Linked DNA regions of Homo sapiens: region 1 is linked to region 2. Evidence: promoter capture Hi-C in 16 types of primary human blood cells and fetal thymus (Javierre and others, 2016). All regions are on one chromosome and are shown on one strand. Each heading gives the region's core, a stretch centred on a gene start or on the middle of the fragment in contact. The rest is flanking DNA. Distances are from core to core; before and after follow the strand shown. Region 1 overlaps HGD (homogentisate 1,2-dioxygenase). Region 2 holds the start of RABL3 (RAB, member of RAS oncogene family like 3).

What was found. Contacts are between HindIII fragments. The CHiCAGO score rates a contact against its expected background, and 5 or more counts as called.
Region 1: a fragment that was not itself captured here is called in contact with the fragment with the promoter of RABL3 in region 2 in 1 of 17 cell types (megakaryocytes); the score reaches 6.6 in megakaryocytes.

The regions. Positions count from the first base shown.
Region 1 is chr3:120,637,956-120,641,389 of GRCh38, forward strand. It overlaps HGD (homogentisate 1,2-dioxygenase), which reads right to left. Exons shown (of 14, transcript NM_000187.4): 12 at 500-626. Among named protein-coding and RNA genes, the nearest start is that of HGD, 43 kb to the right of the region's middle. The HindIII fragment of the contact is 2,399 bases long and covers 343-2,741 here.
Region 2 is chr3:120,740,697-120,744,623 of GRCh38, forward strand. It overlaps RABL3 (RAB, member of RAS oncogene family like 3), which reads right to left and starts at 1,820. Exons shown (of 8, transcript NM_173825.5): 1 at 1,766-1,820. The coding sequence starts at 1,811. GTF2E1 (general transcription factor IIE subunit 1) reads left to right here and starts at 2,048. Exons shown (of 5, transcript NM_005513.3): 1 at 2,048-2,098. RefSeq lists enhancers at 1,081-1,719, 1,551-1,840, 1,720-2,358, 1,806-2,100, 1,981-2,100. The HindIII fragment of the contact is 8,742 bases long and covers 189-3,927 here.

The DNA.
Region 1 (3,434 bases), core at 292-2,791, 100 kb before region 2:
GAGGCAGATCCCTCATAAATGGCTTGGTGCCATCATGACGGTTATGAGTGAGTTCTCACTCTATGAGTTCACATGGGGTTTGGCTGTTCAAAAGAAGCTGGGACTTCCTCCTTTCTCTTGCTTGCTCTCATCATGTGATATGCCAGCTTCCCTCTTGCCTGCCACCATGATTGTATTTCCTGAGGCTTCATTAGAAACAGATGCCAGCACCATGCTGCTTGTACAGCCTGCATAACCACGAGCCAAATGAACCTCTTTTCATTATAAATTAAGTAGCCTCAGGTATTCCTTTATAGCAACGAAGAATGGACTAACACAACTACCATCCCTTAAAGAGATTAAAGCTTGGGGATCAGCACTAGGCCTTGTGCAGCAGGATCCTGAATTCATGCCATGGTGGGTGTCCAGAAATAACCCAGGCATTATTCCCAATGTGTAGCGCTCACTGCTTTGTTGTCTCTTTGGCTTGCAAATGTGGCTTGGTAAAAGAGAGACTTACTATGGTAATAAGGAGGCCTGAAGGTCTTATCAGCAACCCCCCATCGAGGTGGGAAGATGACAAAATCAGCAATGGCCACTCCAGGGCGGACAGACTTAGCAGTCAATACTGTGAAAATGGATGGGTCCTGTGAACACACAAGGAGAGACTGAACGCATGATGCAAGGGAAGTGACTGGACAATGACACACATTTCATGCATACATGAAGGTGTTTGCAAGTGACATTCTAATTTTTTTATTTATTTTTATTCAACTTTTAATTTAGATAGAGGGATACATATGCAGTTTTGTTACATGGGTATATTGTGTGATACTGAGGTTTGGGGTAGGGATCTGATATGGTTTGGTTGTGTCCCCACCCAAATCTCATCCTGAATTGTAGCTTCCATAATCCCCACATGTTGTGAGAAGGACCCGGTGGGAGGTAACTGAATCATGGGGGCAGGTTTTTCCCATGCTGTTCTCATGATAGTGAATAAGTCTCACAAGATCTGATGGTTTTATAAAGGGCAGTTCCCCAACACATGCTCTCTTGATTGCCTCCATGTAAGACATGCTTTTGCTCCTCCTTCGCCTTCCACCATGATTGTGAGGCCTCCCCAGCCATGTGGAACTGTGGATATGTTAAACCCCTTTTTCTTTATAAAGTACCCAGTCTCGGGTATTTCTTCACAGCAGTATGAAAATGGACTAATACAGGATCCCATCACCCAGGTAGCGAGCATAGTATCCAATAGGTAGTTTTTTCACCCTCCCCCTTCTAGTAGTCTCCAGTGTCTATTTTTCTCATGTTTATGTCCATGGGTGCTCAATGTTTAGCTCCCACTTATAAGTGAAAAGATGCAGAAGTTGGTTTTCTATTCCTGCATTAATTTGCTTAGGATTATGGCTTCCAGCTGCATCCATGTTGCTGCAAACGGACAGCCTAATTTCTGATCAAACAACAGAAGTCTGGGCTTGTCATCAAGGTGCAATAATCACTCATATGACTTTTTCCTCTTGCTGTGCTTGAGGCAAAATGAATTAACACCAGCTAAAAGGATTCTGAACTGCTTTTTCACCCTGCTGAGCCCACATTACATGCAACTTATTACCCCGTGGGTCTGAGAACCAACGGTGCCTGCTTCTCAACCTCAGATCAAGTTGACTAGAGCTGAGATGTGCAGCAGAAGGGATGCTCAGAGCAAAGTAGAAATAGAAATAAAGCAAAATCCAAGTTTTGGTGTAGATGTGCTCCTCTTTGGGAGAATACGGAGATTCCAGATTGTATCCATTGGCAGAAAAGTCTGAGAAGTGGTTCATTGCTTTCCTACCTTTGTTTGACTTTCAGGTCTAAAACACAGCATTTACATCCGTAGTCTTCATAGTGGTAGTGTAGAGATAGGATAGGTTGAGGGACGAAATTATACTTTTTAAAACTCTTCAGAATTCTTTAGTGAGAAGGTTGAGATTCAATTTAATTGAAATCAACAATCATGTTCCCTTTCAGATGCCATGTAAGAGTCTGGAGATTCAAAGATCATGGGGATCGATTCCCTGCTTCTTTAGCATTAATTGTGGGGTGGGGGTTGGGCAGCTAATTCTACCTGAAAGGGTCAAGGAAGGCTTCAAAGAGGAGGTGACATTTGAGGTAGGTCTTCAAGAATGAACAGAAAGAAAGAAAAAGAGAGAGAGAAAGGAAGGAAGGAAGGAAAGAAGGAAGGAAGGAAGGAGCATATGTACCCTTGAACCTAAAATAAAAGTTAAAAAAAAAAAAAGAAAGGAAGGACGTGGCGGGGATGGGGGAAAAAGGGAGGGAGGGAGGGAGGGAGGACTAAGGAAGTGGGAAGGAAGGGAAATGACATTTTAATCACTGAAAACACATCAAAGTGCACAGAGATTTTGTTAAGAGGAGAGAAGGCTAAAACCCCAGTGCATTGACAGAAGGGAGAGGGGCAAGAGGTGATACTGGAAAATGAGTCCAGGGACAGATGGTGAAGAGCATCAAACACCATGCTTCAGAGTGCAGACTTAATCCTAAGCCATGGGAAGCCTGCAAAGGCTTTCTAATGAAGACAGTGGTGGCATGATCAGAACTGAATTTTGGAAAAATAACTATTGCAGCAATACAGAGAAGATCGCATCTGTGTAAATTCAAATAAAAATAAACCCAACCCTTATTGCTGTGAGAATTGACATTTCTTCAACTGTCATGGGACATGATCTGAAACTATTAAAGCAAAGGTAGTGAATCACAAATAAAGCTTTATCAGTGTCTCAGGATCCTTTTTCGTGCTGTTTGTTTGGGGTCTGATGTCTCACTTTTCTTTTCCCCTTTGCTTTTATTAAGAGTTGCTGCTGTTTGGAGAGGTAGGTTTGTCCCCCCAGAGATAAACTGAACTGGCTCACAATAATCCTTTTGCCTCTGAGTCTCTGACTTCTGCTCTAATTATCCTTCCAGCTTGTGGGTTAGGTTCATCTCTTATGAAGTGAGCTGCAAAATGAACTTCCCCCCGGGGTCTCAGAACCACCACTTTATTAAGAATGTAGGGTCTTGGGAGCCTGCACTGTAGACCAGAGACCATTTGTGGCCTGCGAACTGAGTGAAAAATATGACCAAGTTCATGCTCTAGAATTTCTTTGGTTTAAACTCAAGCACTGAAAGTTATGAGTAACTTTAGAAGTGGGCTGTTCACTCTGTCACTGCCAAATACAGCCAGGAATGAAGGCACTGGGGTGAGAAGTCAGAGATCATAGAGGAGGCTCTTGAGAGTTGTGGGGTCAGGGACTTCTCCAAATTCATAAAGTTCCTTTCTCCTCATTCTACCACCGACATTAACACTTGGTTGTTTTGGGGGATAAATTTTCCACAAAGAAACTAAGTGTTTATCCACTTAGTTTGGCAAATACAAGTCAGAGTATCACCAATGCTCTGTAGAGAATGAAGCTATGTTC
Region 2 (3,927 bases), core at 570-3,069:
ACTTTTAAATCGCAGTTAAAAGGAGACTGACAAAATTACCTTTTAAAAAGATAAAAAGACAATAACTAACTTTGCACATAAAGGTTAACATTAGTGAATGTGTGACAACATCAATCACTTTCCTGGCCATCACAGCTGTGTCTTCTGCTTTACAACTAAACCATAACAGGGGAGGCGGGCAGTAGGGAAGCTTATCAATTGCCTGATTACTTTTCCACATTTAATGTAGCTGCTAATTCTATCCCTGTTATATGACGCATTAATTCCACAGTTATAACCCCAGAACCTAATACAGTGCCTGTTGGAAAGAAAATAAATTGACTAGTTGCAACAGTTTGTAATATGAAGGGATTGTTAGATACAATAGAAAATGGAATTATAAAGGACACAAAACACCCACTTAACGTATCATGAAGAAGTCTGTTAGTTCTGGATTGTAAATTCTACTCAGTGATACTCTTGCCAAGTCCCTTTAGGCCACAATTACTTTATCTGTAAAACTGAGTGATTTTATTAAATTAACTTCGGCACCACTTCAAGCTACCTGATAGAAATGAAGTCGACATAAATTGTGATTATGTTCATTAAGTTTCAAAAGGCAACTTTCTTAGGGGAATATTAAATAATGCTCTCTGTAAAATATTTCATAATGCAAATAATCCTCAGGGCAATGTGAAAACATTCTTAACCTATATTTGCTGCCCACAATTTTATTTAGTTTCTATTAAGTTTTCAAGCCTCTCCACCTCCAAGCATCTAGCACAACGTCTTTGCTCACAACACATGCTCTTAGGCCAACTCCAGAGGAGCGCTTCTATAAAATGCAAGGTCAGCATTTATTGAAGTTACTAAGGAGAGCTGAATTGGGGATTATGGAAGAAAAGATAAGGGCAGTGAGGTGGGAGCTGGAAATCCAGACGCCAGCTGTAGTTCTCAAATGTCCCAGGTGTCAAAAGAATTCTTTTTGCATCCACTGAGATTAAAAAAATATATATATATTTAACACTAGGATTAAATTGGGCTCAGCGTTAAATCCTAGCTGCTTCAGAATAAAACTCTTACTTTAATTTCTCTATTGTACAGTCTAGGACATAATAGGTTTTCAATGAAGATCAAACGAGAACCAGGAAATTAAGCTCAGTTAAGAATAAAACAGGACCACTACCCAATATGTCACTGCATAATTATAACTTAGCGTTTAAGTTCGTGGACTCCGCGTTCAAAAGGATTCTGTCATTTACATCTCTCTGCCTCACTACTCTCATCTGTAAAATGGGATAACAGGACTGTCTCAGAATTAAATGAGTTAATACATGCGAAGCGCTTGCCAGTGCACGTTTCTCAGTGCACGTTTCTCAGTGCACGTTTGACTTCCTTAATGAACAAAATCTCTTGAAGGCACGGTCCTACTAACTTCTGTACCCTTAACATAGAACCCCATACAATACTCAATGCCTGCTTTTTTTTTTTTTTTTTTTAATAAAAGAATTGACAATACACTCTAGGCTGGGGTCGCCTGGGAGACCGATGCGGAAAGCCGCGAAGGCAAAAGACCCGGGCTCCGCGACCCCCACCCGCGCGACGACGCCGCCGCCACCGCGTCGTCACACGGAGCAAAGTCCCCTGGGAAGTGTAGTCTTCAGGCCCTGGGAGGGACTTCAGCCACGGGCCGAGGAGCCAGGAAGTTGAGGGAAGGAAGCTAAGGGGAGGGTTACTGGGTAACTCAAAAGTGTCTGGAGCCCCAGAGGTAGGGTAAGCCGCTCACCTGAGTCTCCCAACACCAGTACCTTCACCCGATCCAGGGACGCCATCTTGCCACTGCCTTCCCTGGGTTAACGCCTGTTCCTGGATTGTAAGCCAATCAGAGTTGGGCATGGAGGGCAGAGCCTTCAATTTCATTGGCCACTCGGAGCGTGACTGTCTTGATCGAAGGTTTCACTGAACTCATTGGCTGGTCTGGTAAAAGGTAGCGGGGTGCTTCCCCAGCTGGTCGCAGGAATAGTGCGTTTTCTTTGTCGCGCAAGGGGCGTGGTTCATTTAAGCCGGTAGTTGAAGCGCTGGGGGCAGCTGTAGTGGGAGTGTTCCAGGATTCGCCTTGGTAAACCTTGTTCCCTGTTCCTTGTTCGGAGTTCCCTGGCCGGGCATTGCATTTCATGATTTCTTCTTCCTTTCGCTCCCTCTTAACTATCCTCCCCTAATGAATTACCCTGTTGCCTTGGTCCTCTTGGTCCTCCAAAGAACCATTGACCCCGGAGCGGCCCGTGTGCGACCTCGGGTAGGGCGGGCTTGGCTGCGCCGAGTGTGGCCCTGGACCCAACTGGGAGAGTCCGAGGGAGTTTGGGGTCTCGGAGTCTCGCATTGGGGAGGAGTGCATATCACCGAACGCGTCTCGTGGAGGGCAGCTGGGTCCGGAGGTTTCGCGGTAGTTTGCCGCTGTGTGTGTGAAGGCGTGGAAAGTGCCATGAAATGTGGTAACACAACACCGCAGTTAGATGTGTAGAATCCCAAGTTGTTCTAGAACTGGAGTGGCGATTTACTGAAGTAATCTAACTGGTCTCTTCGCATCCACTTTTCTTGTTTTTTTCTCCACTCTGCAGTCAGTACAATCTTTTAACATCCTGAATTTGATCCACGCACCTCCCGCTTAAAACTGTTTTAAATTTAAGAAGAGAGTGCCCAGTAGCCTGTCCGATTCTACCTTGGAAACAAGAGTGGAGGAAGTGAAGCAGGGGGAAGCTGGCAAGATGAGCCATGTTGGAACAAAACGTGCCTAGGAGACATATGGAAAGTTTTATGGAAGTACTTGTCTGGCTATGCTAGATGCTGGAAATTAATTGGTGAACAAGATGAAGTCTGGTCTTAGAGATAGACATGGAGAAAGTACAAGAAGGGGGAAAGAGCCATGGAACACGTGAAAGGGGATGATTGTATGCTACTTAATGGGGAGTCTGGGAAGGCCTCCATGAGGAAATATCATTTGAGACTTGAAGGATGATTAGGAGAAGGGGGTTTGGGCTTAGCTGTAGGGGCAGAAGGAACAGCATGTGCAAAGCCTTGGGATGCAGGGAAAGCACATGTGGCTCATGGAATTGAGAATATGCTGGTGTGGCTGGTTATGAGGCTGACAGGGTAGACAGAGGGCAGAGGGTGCCTTCTTTTCAACTTTGTTTCTCTGGCTCCGTGCCTGGTGCACAGTAGTCCTTAAATGTTGATATGATTAAAATACACGTGGGTCTGGGCTGGGGTAGGGAGGTGAGGCTGGGATCTGACTCATGGACTATGGAGATCAAAGGAAGAAACAAAGGTCCTAGGAGGTCCCACGCTCAGAAGTCTCCAGAGACCAGCCATACTCCTTCCCTAATAACGCCAGCTGCTATTCGGCTTCAGCTTATTGTTTCCATGTGGGAACATGGGCTCACTTTTTCCTCAGATATTTCCAATTTTGCAAGAGGAGCTGGAAGTTGAAATTTATGTGAACTCTTACAATTTTTAAATGTTGACAACTAATTCAGAAAATTTTTGAAACATTCTTTGGGTGATACAATGCGTGGGGGGCTGCCAGTTTGAGAACTCTTACCTAAGACCTCTAGAGATTGAGTAAGGAGATTCAGCGTGAGTGGGAAGTGATGGAGGAGAGAAGGTAGTGGTCAGGAAGGAGGATTTTAGAATGCAGAGATTTTGAACAAAGTGGCACAGCTTGATTTCATTCCTGAGCTCTAGTTTCATTTGTTCAGCTACCTGCTGGGCATATTCAGAGGAATATCCTATGGTATTTCCTCAAAGACACTTCTAAAAGTGATTTCCTCATTTCTTCCTGCTCCTCGTCAGGGGTCACCTATTTCTCATGGCAGTACTTTTCCTAGCTACGCTGGCTCAAAACAGAGAGCTATTTAAGATTTTTCCTACTCTCATATTCTGTATCCAATA